Linked DNA regions of Homo sapiens: all the other regions are linked to region 2. Evidence: promoter capture Hi-C in 16 types of primary human blood cells and fetal thymus (Javierre and others, 2016). All regions are on one chromosome and are shown on one strand. Each heading gives the region's core, a stretch centred on a gene start or on the middle of the fragment in contact. The rest is flanking DNA. Distances are from core to core; before and after follow the strand shown. Region 1 overlaps C5orf67 (chromosome 5 putative open reading frame 67). Region 2 holds the start of LINC01948 (long intergenic non-protein coding RNA 1948). Region 3 has its middle 94 kb from the start of LINC01948. Region 4 overlaps C5orf67 (chromosome 5 putative open reading frame 67). Region 5 overlaps C5orf67 (chromosome 5 putative open reading frame 67).

What was found. Contacts are between HindIII fragments. The CHiCAGO score rates a contact against its expected background, and 5 or more counts as called.
Region 1: a fragment that was not itself captured here is called in contact with the fragment with the promoter of LINC01948 in region 2 in 2 of 17 cell types (total B cells and naive B cells); the score reaches 8.6 in total B cells.
Region 3: a contact is called between a fragment that was not itself captured here and the fragment with the promoter of LINC01948 in region 2, in 1 of 17 cell types (neutrophils). The highest score is 5.5, in neutrophils.
Region 4: a fragment that was not itself captured here is called in contact with the fragment with the promoter of LINC01948 in region 2 in 1 of 17 cell types (total B cells); the score reaches 6.2 in total B cells.
Region 5: a contact is called between a fragment that was not itself captured here and the fragment with the promoter of LINC01948 in region 2, in 2 of 17 cell types (naive B cells and total B cells). The highest score is 8.7, in naive B cells.

What each region holds. Positions count from the first base shown.
Region 1 is chr5:56,601,718-56,604,417 of GRCh38, forward strand. All of the region lies in intron 1 of C5orf67 (chromosome 5 putative open reading frame 67), which reads right to left. Among named protein-coding and RNA genes, the nearest start is that of C5orf67, 3.2 kb to the right of the region's middle. RefSeq lists an enhancer at 1-1,525. The HindIII fragment of the contact is 2,851 bases long and covers 1-2,700 here.
Region 2 is chr5:56,480,432-56,483,131 of GRCh38, forward strand. LINC01948 (long intergenic non-protein coding RNA 1948) reads right to left here and starts at 1,338. Exons shown (of 5, transcript NR_104664.1): 1 at 1,122-1,338. RefSeq lists an enhancer at 1,107-1,266. The HindIII fragment of the contact is 6,332 bases long and covers 1-2,700 here.
Region 3 is chr5:56,386,717-56,389,436 of GRCh38, forward strand. No RefSeq gene overlaps it. Among named protein-coding and RNA genes, the nearest start is that of LINC01948, 94 kb to the right of the region's middle. The HindIII fragment of the contact is 2,598 bases long and covers 83-2,680 here.
Region 4 is chr5:56,544,683-56,547,382 of GRCh38, forward strand. All of the region lies in intron 2 of C5orf67 (chromosome 5 putative open reading frame 67), which reads right to left. Among named protein-coding and RNA genes, the nearest start is that of C5orf67, 60 kb to the right of the region's middle. RefSeq lists a silencer at 406-606. The HindIII fragment of the contact is 2,722 bases long and covers 54-2,700 here.
Region 5 is chr5:56,560,672-56,563,371 of GRCh38, forward strand. The region is part of intron 1 of C5orf67 (chromosome 5 putative open reading frame 67); the gene reads right to left. Among named protein-coding and RNA genes, the nearest start is that of C5orf67, 44 kb to the right of the region's middle. The HindIII fragment of the contact is 4,794 bases long and covers 1-2,700 here.

The DNA.
Region 1 (2,700 bases), core at 134-2,633, 120 kb after region 2:
AATTATGTCTCTTCTCTAGCAGCTGCCAGAGATTACTGCCGTCAGAGTGATTATCACCAAATAATTGTTCCCTTTCTTCCCTGCTGACAGGGCAGAATGGGAACAGAGACTCATCTGAAATAGATTTTGTACTTGCTGAATGCAAGTTGGATAGCTCAGGTCAATGAGCATCCACTGAAGTATTTCAGCATCGTGCCTGTTGACCTCAGAGAAAAATTAAAATTCATCTGATACAAAAGGGAAAACCATCAAATGTCACCTGCTTGAGGTTATGCAGCTTTCTTGGAGTTGAGCAACTGTGGTTTCAGACTAGAATAAACATTTATTTTAGCCTGAAATAAATTGTCCTTTGCTGAGGATGATTCTAGAGGATAGAAACAAGAGGAGTATTTTCTGGAGCCTGAACTCTGAGACAAGTAACTGGCTTATTTCCATAGTGGTAGATATGAAAAGACTGCTCATAACCCCTCTCCTCCTGCCTGCCTTTATGACATTCACAGGGAGGTTATTAAAATCGTCCACTAGGCCTGTCTCTGGAGCAGTCACAGAATCCAAATTTTCCGATGAACTCCTCAAAGTTGTCATGATACTGAAGATAAATAGGCTATAATGTGAGTGAAGCATGCTGCAAATTCAGTAGTGTCACCTTTCAGCCTATCTACCCAACGAAGCTCTAGACTGCTGGGAAATGAAATGTTCCACACTAACAAATATTTATGTGCAATTCTATACAGGGTGGTGAGCAAGAATAAAGTAGAGTAGGTCATCATCATAATCTTTAATGTCTGGTAATATGAAGGGAGAAAGGTGGCCATCTCTTTTTTCTCTCTCATTGACAGAGATTTGATGTGATTTCAACCAACAAACCTGTATTATAGCCTGATGTATACCAGACATTATGCTAGAAGTTATGGGAACAGGGAGGATCCTGAGGTAACAAAGACAAGGTCTCTGCCCTCAGATGAGTTCACAGTGTGGCTCTTCCCTTTTTTCTAAAAGAGCCAGAATGATAATGAGACTTCTGAATCAGAAGAGTCATGGGATCGAAGTTTGAGATTTGGCTTCTCCACTTGCTAGCTTTTGACTTTGGGCAGGTCACTAGCCTCTCCATGCCTCAGTTTCTCTCTCTACAAACTGAGGATAAGGGTACTCCAGTAACCTACCTCAAAAGATTGTTGTAAAGACCAAATGAAATTGAACATGCAAAATCTCTTTCTAAATGGCAGAGCATCGTGCGAATATGATCTTATAATTATGAGTCACAGCAAAAGAGCGATTAGATTCCTAACAATGATACCTTCTACATAAACAATAACCTTGCCCAGCAACTGCCATCTTCTAAATCCCCTAAAAATCAGCACATGAGAAAGGCAGACTGGCTTTCCTTCAAAGGTAGGGGTGTGTTATAAAAAACATTTGTGTGACCCTAGCACCAAGAGCATAGCAAGTACTCAATAAATGCTGAAAAATTGGAGTTAGTCTGAGACTCCACAGTCAGATTAGAGAAAACAGAACCAAAGGGGCTACTCTGAAAGCAGGGGGTCAAACCATACATCTTAGTGGTCACAAATTAGTCCATTTGTTTTCGTATGTAATGTCAATATGTCAGTAGTAACGGTAAATGTTGCAATGATTTACCATAGACCACAATCATAAGGGATTCCTCTACCCCTTCTCCCTGCCCACTATCACCACAAGATTTTTCGCTAGTAGCTTTTATTGTTGATCAAGTTTCACTTTGACTGCAAAAGTCACAGTAGGTATCCTGTAGAAAGTGTTTGAAGAGATTGGGCGCGGTGGCTCACGCCTGTAATCCCAGCACTTTGGGAGGCCGAGGTGGGAGGATCACCTGAGGTCAGAAATTCGAGACCAGCCTGCCCAACATAGTGAAACCCCGTCTCTACTAAAAATACAAAAATTAGCCTGGTGTAGTGTCACGTGCCTTTAATCCCAGCACCCGGGAGGCTGAGGCAGGAAAATCACTGGAAACCGGGAGGTGGAGGCTGCAGTAAGCCAAGATCGTGCCACTGCATTTCAGCCTGGGTGTCACAAAAAAAAAAAAAAAGTGTCTGATTGAATAACTGGAAGACAATTTCAAAGGTATAAAGTTTGCATAAAAGAACTCAATGTCAGATTCTAGACCATGCAGGGCCCAGCACAAAGGCTCCAGACGCACATCAACTGTGGAGCATTGTTTTTTGAAGGAGGCAATGATGAGTGTAGTTCTAGTTAACATGCTCCCAATTTTTGACCTTTAGGCAAATAGTTTAAATTCATTCATCTACATTTTCCAAATCTATAAAACATATGTGCCACCTTTCTCGCACACACTTACACACAACAACAACAGCAACAACAAAAATAAACATCTCTAGAAGCCATGAGGGTTTGTTTTTTTTTTAAGATCTTATTTGTTCATTTAGGCCAATACCAAAATTAGCGGGGGGAAGGGTGGGGAGCTGAGCTGGAGAAATGGTACAAGAGCCAAGCTAAGGGCAGTTGGAAGCTGGCCCATGAATAAAATTCCCTGCGTGCAGCTGTAAAACATACACCTGTCCTTCAGGGACTGAGTTCAGGATAACCAAACATTCCTTATAATAAGTCTGCACACTCTGCTGTGCCAACAGAGAAGACCAATTATATGTGTGAGACGATCTGCCATGAACTACTTGGTCTCTGCTGGCCATTTTAGTACTAAAA
Region 2 (2,700 bases), core at 88-2,587:
TGCCCTCCTGATACTTGCAGCTGGTGTTTAAGGACGTGCCTGCCTTGGGCGATGGGCGGGTAGAAACCTCACACACCAAAGCCCATCGAGCTAAACTCAAGGTTGCGAACCCCAACCCCGGTGGGAACACGGTCTGCAGACACGCTCCCTTAAGTCCCTGTCGCACACAATAAATTGCTTTCTGAATATTCCCTTTACAACTGCAAAAAATAGAAATGGCTGTAACTGTGCAGAGAAAGAAAAGAGAAGCTGGGATGAGCTCCATCAGGGGCCGAATCTGCTTCTCGCTGGTGGATACTGTGATAAGAAACCTAGATCTGAACGGCCTCACAATGGCCTATTTATCCGGCTCTTACGCACGGCCGGCAGCCCCGGCTGGGAATCACGGGGGTGGCAGCCGTCCCCGGAAAACGGCGGCATTCCGACACAGGAAAGCCCGCGGATCAACTGATCTGCAGACAACGCTTCTTCCTTCCTGGGAAGCGGCCACAAAGGCAGCCAGCTGACCCCGGCCCAGCGCGGCTCCCGGCCGAGGAGGACAGGGGCGGGGTGGGGAGGGGGGGAATCGTCGCCCGCCCCGCCCCCACCCCCCAAGTTTCCTTTGGCAAAAGCATCCCAGGCGTGGTTCAGGCAGAGTCCACGCCAGCGAGGCTGGGGCCGAAACTCTCCACGCCAGGAAGGCGGGGTAGGCGGACCCGCCGCCCCCAGCCCCGCGCGCCCGCCGCGCCCCCCACGGCCCCCACCAGCTGGCTCTTCCGGCCGGGGCGGCCTTGGCCTGGGGCTGGGGTTGACTTTGGTGGGGGGACAGGAAGGACTGGCACAGCGCCCGCGACTGTCCCCTGAGGAGGACCCTCCCTACGACTTTTGGTCAAAAGCAAAAAGAAACACAGACATGTGCGTCACCCCGGGAAGCGCGCGGGGGTTTCGCTCGCGTTTCAGGAGCCGACTTCGCATCCTCCCTCGGTAGGGGGGTCGGGGGTTCCTAAAATTTACCCCCCAACTTCACTTCTCTGGCGACAGAGCACCTTAACAGTTCATTTCCCTCTCGCTCTCAAGTGAAAACATCTTATTTTTGTGTTAAAATGTATAAAGACACCATGAGAATTGGCAGGAGGTCAAACCGTAGATTCTGAGATGCTCCGGTCGCTCCCCAGGAAGCGCTGTTTTCGGAAGTGTTGACCCAGCAGCTGGTCCCTGCTGCTCTAATGACACGATGTGTGCTTTCACTTTTTCACTCCCAAAACGACGTGGTTTGGAGTCTTGAGAGCCTTGGAAATCGCTGCCCGTGGAGGGAAAGGTCTGGAGAGGCCAGGCCAGGAGAGCAGACATGCTGCAAGAAGCGGAGGCAGCCCTGTGAACTCGCCTGGCTCCGCAGGGAGGGGCGAGGCTGTCCAGGTCGCAGGTGGAGCTGGCCAGCTGCGAGCCAGGATGTCCTTGCTCTTTCCAAATTATACACAGTTTCCACAAGGAAAAAAGAGAGGGGTAGGGGGTCCAGGCAGATCTTCAGCTGTTTGTATACTCTGCACCAGGAGGCGCTATCATCAGCCCGGACCCCTACTCCACAGGACTGAGGAGACCACAATTCTTCCCTCCAGGCAGAATCGTGGACCCAATATTCCCGTCTCCCCGAATTCTCTTAACTCAGTATACTGCCATTAACAGCATAGTCAGCCTTCTGGACTTGAACTCCAGAAGGAATTTTGTCTCATTTAGTGCCTGCAGGGGAGCAGGATGAGATAGTACCTCTTGTACCGGCACAAGGTCTCTGAGTTGACTCTTACATAAACATTGCGCTGTTTCTAGGGACGGCATCATTTCTTGACCTAGAGAAACAAAGATATTGTGGGAAGGACCCCTGATGCTCAGTGGCAGTTTGGAGACCTGGCATTAGCCTTACTCAGTAAGGCTTCCTGATCTAGCAGGACTGATCCAGTCAGCTTTGATGATCCCCTAGCCTGGTACTGGGATTCTTCCAAACACCCATGAGATCACCCACATCTCACAGGGGCTGGTAGTGTTCCAGCAGAGAAAGGTGAGGGTAGCAAGCAGTAGTCACTTTGGGCCTGAAATGAACATCTTGGGGTTTTTATATCTGCCCACCCACTATGGGACATTATTGTCCCTTCCTCTTTGCTACAGTGTTTCCAGAAAATGAGAAGTAGCATCTTCTTAGAAATAGATTGGGTACCCTGTCTTAGACCTAGTTCCTTTTTTTTTGTTTTTTTGAGACGCTGTCTCACTCTGTCTCCCAGGCTGGAGTACAGTGGTGCGATCTGGGCTCACTGCAACCTCCGCCTTGGGGGTTCAAGTAATTCTCCTGCCTCAGCCTCCTGAGTAGCTGGGAATCCAGGTGTGTGCCACCACACTCGGCTAATTTTTGTATTTTTAATAGAGACAGGGTTTCACCATATTGGCCAGGCTACCCTTGAACTCCTGACCTCAAGTGATTCGCCTGCCCCAGCCTCCCAAAGAGCTGGGCAGTTACTTTTATTATAGTTCTAGATAACATAGAAAAGAACATGGAAAGCAGCTATGCAAGCAAAACACAAACACAAACAACCCTGTTAAAAAGTGGGCAAAAGACATGAACAGACACTTCTCAAAAGAAGACATGCAAGCAGCCAACAAATGTGAAAAGATGCTCAGCATTGCTGATTATCAGAGAAATGCAAATCAAAACCACGATGAGATCTCACACCA
Region 3 (2,720 bases), core at 132-2,631, 94 kb before region 2:
CAAAATAAATGCCTTAGAATTGTGTGTGTTTGTTTTTTGCTAATTTGATGGTAAACATGAAAGCCCAAAGTGTCCTGGGAAAAGCTTTGTATTTTTCTTTAAGCCACAAATAGTCTAATTAGACTTGAAAGAATGCACTTCCAAAGCAAAATAAGACAAAATAGAACGTTCAAAGAGCCACATACCATAGTTTCAGAGATAACTAGAAATTGGGTCTATAAAGATAGCAATGCATTGCTATTGAGTTTGTCTCGCCCACTGTCTTCCACACTCCAGGCGGGAGGGCTACAGCAGCGTCTTATCGTCCTTGAATTTGTTGAATGAATGGCAGTGTCCAAAAGTGCGGAAAACCCCAGGCACAGAATGATACTAAGGGGATCTAAAGAGTTTCTTGGATGAAAATACTGGTGCTACTTGGGAAGATTTGAGAATATGATGGCTCTGAAAATGTACAATTGCTCTGCAATCTTACAGAATTTTTAGAGTCAACTTCTATAAAGAGGGGACAAAACTATTTATAATAAGCACAGTTGAAAAAATACTGTGAAGCAGGAAAGATGGCCTTAGATGTTGTCACCTCCTATTTCTGGGAATTCCTCACCATTCACGGTCCTCAAGATCACTCTACCCCCTTCCATGTCAAAGCCTGGTTTTAGGAAGGGATCTGGTAAATTCATCCTCCTGAGTTTCAGTAACTGCAACAGTTTACTGCAGTAATACATTAAGTCATATTTCAATTGACAGAAAAGGCTTAATATACTGTATTAGTTATTCTGTTTACTTTTAAATAAACATCAACACGTTAACCCAAGGTGGCATATTTCTAATTACAGAATTAAAAACATCAGAGCATGAGCGAAAGCAATTTTGTAAAGGAAACACTTTCAAAAAAATTGGACTGTGTACTTCACCTATTTCACTTGTTTCTGAGGCTTGGTAATTGATTATCCAGTAATGTTTTGGCCTTCTTACATATTAAGAATAGTTAGTACAAACAAAGCAAGGGGATGCCTATTATTAAAATAAGCAATCTCTAATGAACCCATGAATTCCACTGCAACTCTCTCAGCAGCTTGCTCAGGACCCAGGCTAAATCAGGTACTCAAATACCAATCCCTGTTTTCAAAGAGGGAAGATTAAATTGCTTTTGGCTTTGTTCATGAAAACAGCCATTTTGCATTCATGGCACTGAATAGATTCTTTATGATAATTAATGTAAGTTTTATATTTTTACAACAGTCCTTGGGCTGTGTTCTCATGAATATTTCCATTAAATAATTACCTCTTAGAAACGAAAGAGATCTTTTGTATTTTTTAGAACTGTGTTTATGGATACATTCTCCATGCCTCCCCTTTCCCATTCCTCTCGAAATTGCTTGTATCTAAGGAACTTAATACCCTGTCATTATATGTTTAATTCATTTTAGGATATGTGTCCAGAAATATTTGTGCTATTGAGAGAATCACACTGGCCCTCTGAATACTGAGAGCTGGTCCCATTTCTGCAGATTTTCTTCTGTGTCTTGCACGTGTTGTAGACCTATAAACCTCCTGGCATACATAAGCCCACTCTTCTCATTTTGTTTGAGATGCAAAATTCCTAACAGGAAAGTAACCATTTCAGTAACCAATCTTAGAGGCTTGTTTGTCTTTTCTTTATAAATTCTTAACCTTTTCATGACTTAGCAGAAAGTATGCAGGGCTCAGGTTAGGTCAACAACAGAGTCAAGGTTAACTACAAGAAAGTGACATGAGAAAAAATCCAACTAATCCAAACATGGAAACATCAATAGGTGACTTAGACCAACTATAACATTAGCCATCACCTCAGGTCCACTAGCACTTAATATATTTTGTTAATAGGCTCTAAGACTCTTAGAATCTGCTTTTCCTCTTTTCTTCAGAGTATGGATTTCATTGCTCTTAAAACATTGCATCTTCTGCTGGGAATAATTCTGTTCTTGGCCTCTGGAACAGCTCATAAATTATATCTCTGGAATTTTAGACTACAGCAGTTAGTGAAATGGTTTCCTATTCCCCTGGGAAGCCCAGGTAGGAATAGCTACTTACAAAAGTGATTAAGTGTGGAATTTTTGCTTTAGGCACAGAACAGGAGTCACCTCAAGAGCTTTTTTAGTTACATCTGCAATTTTGTTTATTTTGGCTCTATCAATTTCTACATCTGAACAAAATATAACTCTAAGCTATGTCACCAGGAAGAGAGAGATGGAGTCTCCTCCTGTGTCTGAATGAAGAGTACCTTCACATGTGGGATAAAGTCTTGTCCAAACACACTTGGTGTCACTTCCATGCATAACTTCCTGCTCAGGGTTTGTCAGGTTAATTTAACCTCAGAGGATTCTAATGCTTCCAAATGAGGGGAAAAAAAAAAAAAAAAAAAAAAAAAATATATATATATATATATATATATATATATATATATATATATATATATATAATGAAATTATGTTAAGACCTGTTGGGCTCAACAAACAGAAAGATAAGTAGTTTTCTTTACTGAAGAGCCATTCACGTATATGCTAATGTCCATTGTGAATCTTCAAGAGTGGAGGAGCACTTTCCAAAAATATTTGACCTTGGAAGACTTTTCTTTATTCAGAATATCTCTAAAAATCTCATGTTCTACAAGGAACTAAACCACAGTCAAATTTCAGTTGAAAGCTTACCTCAGTCATTCACTCACTCCAGCACAAATCAGA
Region 4 (2,700 bases), core at 165-2,664, 64 kb after region 2:
GGGACAGCTCACACCAAAGACCCCCCTCCCAGCTTCCTTGTTCAAGAAGAGTAAGCTTTCCCCTCCCAGAAGCCATTTCGGGGAGGAGAAGGTAGAAAGGATTTTCTTTGAGAACACAGATATAGCCCTGATATTGAAATACTTAACTGAATACTTACCCCAAAGAGGCAGTTATAAACTGGAAGAGACTGGGTTATCTGTGAAACTGTGAGGTAGATAGGAATTTTAGATCTGTTTCAGAGAATAAAGTTAAAATTTGGGGGGCAAACATCTGATTTGTAACTGTTCATAAAGCTACCTATCAAAATGTTATGGATTTCAGGTTTTTTTTTTTTTTGTCTTGACATTAGTTTCTCCTGGTCCAGCTAAAACAAGCAGGGCGTGGGAGGCAGATGCAAAGGTCGGCATTGGCCTCAGAGGGTTGACCAGCTCCAGGTTTCAACACGAGGTGCCCCTTGTCCTATTTCAGAATGCTTCCCCTTCAGCCTAAAAGGTTTCAACAGTTAGTGCTTCCCCTTCAGCCTAAAAGGTTTCGACAGTTAGTGCCATTTGGTCCAGTCACATAATCACAGCTGGTAATTGGAGAAGGTGAACATGTGCTTCCAACATTCACTTTTCGTAGACTCATTAGGTCAAAGATCATCTGAGCAAACCCTCTCATTTTACAGATGAGGAAACCAAGGTCAAAGAAGCTAAACTAAGTTACTCGCGAGCTGTAGCTGGAAAAAAGCTGGAACCAGAATCCTAATTGCTCCAAGTCCAAATTCACAGCTCTTTCTAGCACATCAAGCTGCTCATAAACCAGAAATGATCCGTTCCACACACTGTAATCATAAACCAAAACCCAAAGATTCCAAGTAGTCTCTTTCTTGAAAGAAACCATTGGTGTTTGCTTTACTTCTTCTTCCTACATGTGTTTTGAGAGATGTTGTGAATCTCCTGATGAAAAGCTGTTCTGAGAGAAGCTGAGACAAAGCCTCAGTGATCTATGGCTGCCAAAGTCAGCCCCTCTGCAGCTGTACCAGGACAGAGGAGGCGGGGAGGCAGCCAAGCTGTCTTCAGTGCTGTATTCAGAGGTGCGAGCGCCTGGAATTCTGCAATCCAAAAGGGCCTTCTGGGGGTCAGCTGCCTTCTTAGTGTCTTTGAGGGATCACCCTTTGAAGAATCATCCTTCGACTGAAGGAGGACTTTGCACATGTCATGCAGTGTGAGTTTCAAAGACTGCCAGAATCCAAAGTCTCGATCAATCCATCAGGATGGGGACAACTTTTAGACAGGATCTGGTGATAATGTGGTGCATATCTTCTTTCTTCCATGACCTCAGAAATTTTGTTTTTAATTTGTGCTGGGAAGAAAAATGGAAATCAGAGCAATCACCTGGATAATTTTCTCCAAAAACACACATTTGCTTTAGTTTCCTGGAATGACTATTCATGAATGCGTTCAGATGCAAGTGTTATTTATCTGTTAGCCCCATAAATCTCATGGGGAGCTGTGCTTGGCTAAGGGTATCGGGTTGGAAGCCTAATTGCAACTCTTATCCAAAGTGACCAGAACCTTCCCAGTTACCCAGAATAAAGGACCCCCAGTTCCTTCTTTGTGTGTGTGTGTGTGTGTGTGTGTGTGTGTGTGTGTGTGTGTGAGAGAGAGAGAGAGAGAGAGAGAGAGTGCCATGTCCTTAAGTTGCATTTTCAGTATTGATTTTATTGTGGTCTGCTAATGTTTATATGGCTTAAAAAATGTTCTCTCCATGGATAAGGTCTCCACCTCTCAGGCCACAATAATACCTCGCAGAATGGACAAGCATGGATAATTTTCTAGTTTAACTCCAGGGCCATGTGCATGCCTCCTATAGGCCCTAACATGAGGGGGGCAAATAAATTCAATAAAGTTTCATCAAGTCTTACTTGTTTTCTGCTATGAACGATTTAATATTATAATTATTTTTAGCATAGAGGAAATGTGTATCTACCTTGGGGATAAATGATGATTCTGAAGACATCTTTGCTGTCAATTAACATGTTTCAGCTTCCCTAGAACTTGAGGAGAGAGGTTGGACAATATTATATTTGGCTAATGGCAAAGTCTGCAGACACTTCAACAAGAAAGTGAATGGTAATATCGCCTTGCTGATGCTTGCCATTTTCATTTCTCATTCTCATATTGGTCTGAATAAAACTGTGAAAACTTTCCCTCCTTTTTCTAAATAGTCCTCTTTTATTTCTCTAGAAACAAGAAAAAATAAAACACCACATACACGTATCTCACCCCTCTTCCCTTTGCCTCTCCTACTGCCTGGGCCTTCACTAGACCCATTAGTGCTGGTGGCCAAGTTGTCCTCACTCTCATATGATTTCAAACCCTTACGTTTGAGAAGGTTGATCACAGCGGGAGGTCACAGGAAGGCAAGCAGTCTGCATTGGTTCTAGAGGGCAAAATTCCTAGATAATAGTTCCTTCCTCTGCTCACCTGGGTTTTCCTTCCTTACACTGTGGAAACCAAGGTGCTGGTGAGCCTTGTGAAGCAGCTATTAGGTCTCAGCCATTAGCAGATGGGCCTCTTGGCATATTCACGCCTGGGTGAGCTGAGTCCTTGGGACAGATAGTACCACGATGGAGAGAAGAGAGAAGACACACCACCTGAGGATATTAGGACCAAAGCCCCCATGGGGAAGGCTTGCACACCACCATCTGCACCAGA
Region 5 (2,700 bases), core at 184-2,683, 80 kb after region 2:
ACTCAATTTCATCATCTCTTGATTCTTGCAACGCTCATCTTTTCTACCTATGCTGTGTTCCCATCCTCTGTCTACTGTCTAGAATTGATGCACAGCACCATCTTCCTGGGTGCCACATTGGTTCAGCCTGTCAATTAGGCTGGTTCTTCCATAGCCATGCTGCTTAAGTAATGCCTGTCTTGCATCTCCTGGTAGCTTAAGATCTTATTAGGTCAGTGCCATCTTCTGCACCCAACAGATTTCTTCCTGACCAAGTAAATGAAACTCAGAGTAAAAGATTATGAACTTATAAAAGAACAGCTGGGGCTCTCTTCTTTAGTGCAATCAGGATCGGGTAATTGGTCCGTTAATTAAAACTCAGTGGGAGCTGAAGTACTGAACCCACCAGAGAGCAGTCTTCTTGCCACAAGCAAGAAGGTGAGAGATGGAAGGTGAGAGATAGTACCCTGTGCATGGGGTACTACCAGTTAAGCTGGTGAGTTGGTAAAGTGGAAATCAGTTAATAAAGCGTCTATTCTAATCCTCAGTTTTTTTTATAACACTTAGCAAAATTTACCGTCTAGCCTAAAACAGAAAAGAAAAAAAGTAAGATTTATGTTAAGCAGTAAACTTAACCTTGTGACATTCCCTAGTTCAGGGAAGTGGCCTCTTCAGAAGCTATATTCCACTCGTTCGTGACCCAGAACACCTTATAAAAATTATCAGTGCCCTTGGCTGAGGCTTTTTGTGAAATGCAGAAGATGTTAAGCACAAAAACTCAAATTCAAATCCCAAAGCAGATGGAACATGAATAATAGAAATCATAGTCTACTAATAATTCAAGAATAGCATCTTATGATTGGACCAATTCAGAGTGATAATTGCAACTTGGTACATTATTCGTTCATCTATTTGAAATCTTGGAAGGGACTCTACACAGCACAGTAAGGAGGCTTTGAGAGCCTAAAGCCGTTTCTGTTGTTGTTTGAATGGTGCCAGCCACAGCATGTTTAAACACCACTGCTGCTAGCTGGGTGCCAATGTGGTTTCACCAGCAAGTGTGGGCAAGGATTTTTTTTTTTTAAACTGAAAAGGATTGCTTCCAAAGCATGAAATCAACTGTTAAATCTATCTACTTTTTAAAAACATCCTCTATTTATACTTAGTGAATCTGTGCAAAAATCTTGTCACAAACACACTTAACTCCATGGCCTTAGTGAGAAACCTCTGCTGGCGGGGCTCCGACCTATAATCAAAGCATTAAGTGATCTCTCCACTCCCCTTCCTCCATTCATCGACAGCCCTAGCCAGTCAACAAATGGATTCTCAGGAGCATACCCAGATGAATCCAGGGCCCTGACAGGAGACCTATGTAAAGGTAGACCACTTAGGGATAATCACCAACCGTTTGAAGGGCATTTGTTATTAAAGGATTTTGCTTTTTGGGTTTTGTTTTTTAGCAAAAAGAAAGAAAGAGAAGAAAGAGAGTAGGTTTAGAGATGCAGACTGCCAAATTCATAAGTATTTGTATGATTATAAATACTAAAATGTACACATAAATTGTCCACATGGATCTGCTACTTTCTTCTTGGCCCATAACTGGATTATTTATTTCTCGAGTAAGGACATTGCATTCCCATTCGTTGCTCACATGCTTTAGCTTTCATCAAACTTTGTGTAATGCCCTACACACTATAGCATAGTGAATAAGAGCAAGGGCCCTGGAGAAGACTGACTGAGTTCAAATCCCAACCCCCCATCTCCTTGAGCACACCCCATAACATTTCTGTGCCTCACATTCATCAGTTGAATGTATTAGGTTGGTGCCAAAGTGATTGCAGTTTTTACCACTGAAAGTGGCAATCACTTTGGCACCAACCTAATAAATCACTTAGAGGAGATGACTGGTGCATAGTAAATGCTTAATAAACATTAGCAATTACTGTTAACTAACTGCAACTTGGCTAACTTGGCTACCCTATGTGTGTGAGTGACAAAATGGCCTGCTGATTTTGAGAAAAAAGGACCCTAGAATGGAAATGGAAATGAAGTTTCCAGTTAGTAAAATGGTATTAGAGTATAGATAATATGGAGCCATCAAAATTATTTCTCCAAGATAATATATAATGTAGATGTGGCATACTAATGACGACAGGAGAGAGCCTGTGGATCCATAGGTGTCTTTGTCACCAAGTGGAAAATATCTTGAAGTAGAAATCAAAACACCTAAACTGTAGTCTAGTTCTTTCCTTAACTAGCTATGTGATTTTGGTATAATCGTTTCACCTCTCTGGACTTCTGGACCTCAATGTTTTCATACACAGAGTGAGCAGGTTGATCTAGCAGTGCTATCCAATAGGATTTTCTGTTGTGATGAAAATGTTCTGTCTCTGTACTGTTGGGTGTGGCAGCCACTAGCCACATGGGGATATATTGAGCACTTAAAGTGTGATGAATACAACTGAGGAACTGCATTTTTAATTTTATTTTTATTTTTAACTAATTTAGAGTAAGATTACATAGGCACATATAACAAGTGGCTACTATATTGGGACAGCACAGACAGTATTTTCTAAGATCTTTTCTGATTCTAGCATTCTGTGCTTGACAGAACCTCTCTAGGAAAACCAGTATTGTTACAATGGATCTTAAGACCTTGTCTGATCTTTATGGTCTGTGTACTTTGGAAGAGAACTAAAAGCAAATTTGTAGAGACCCTTA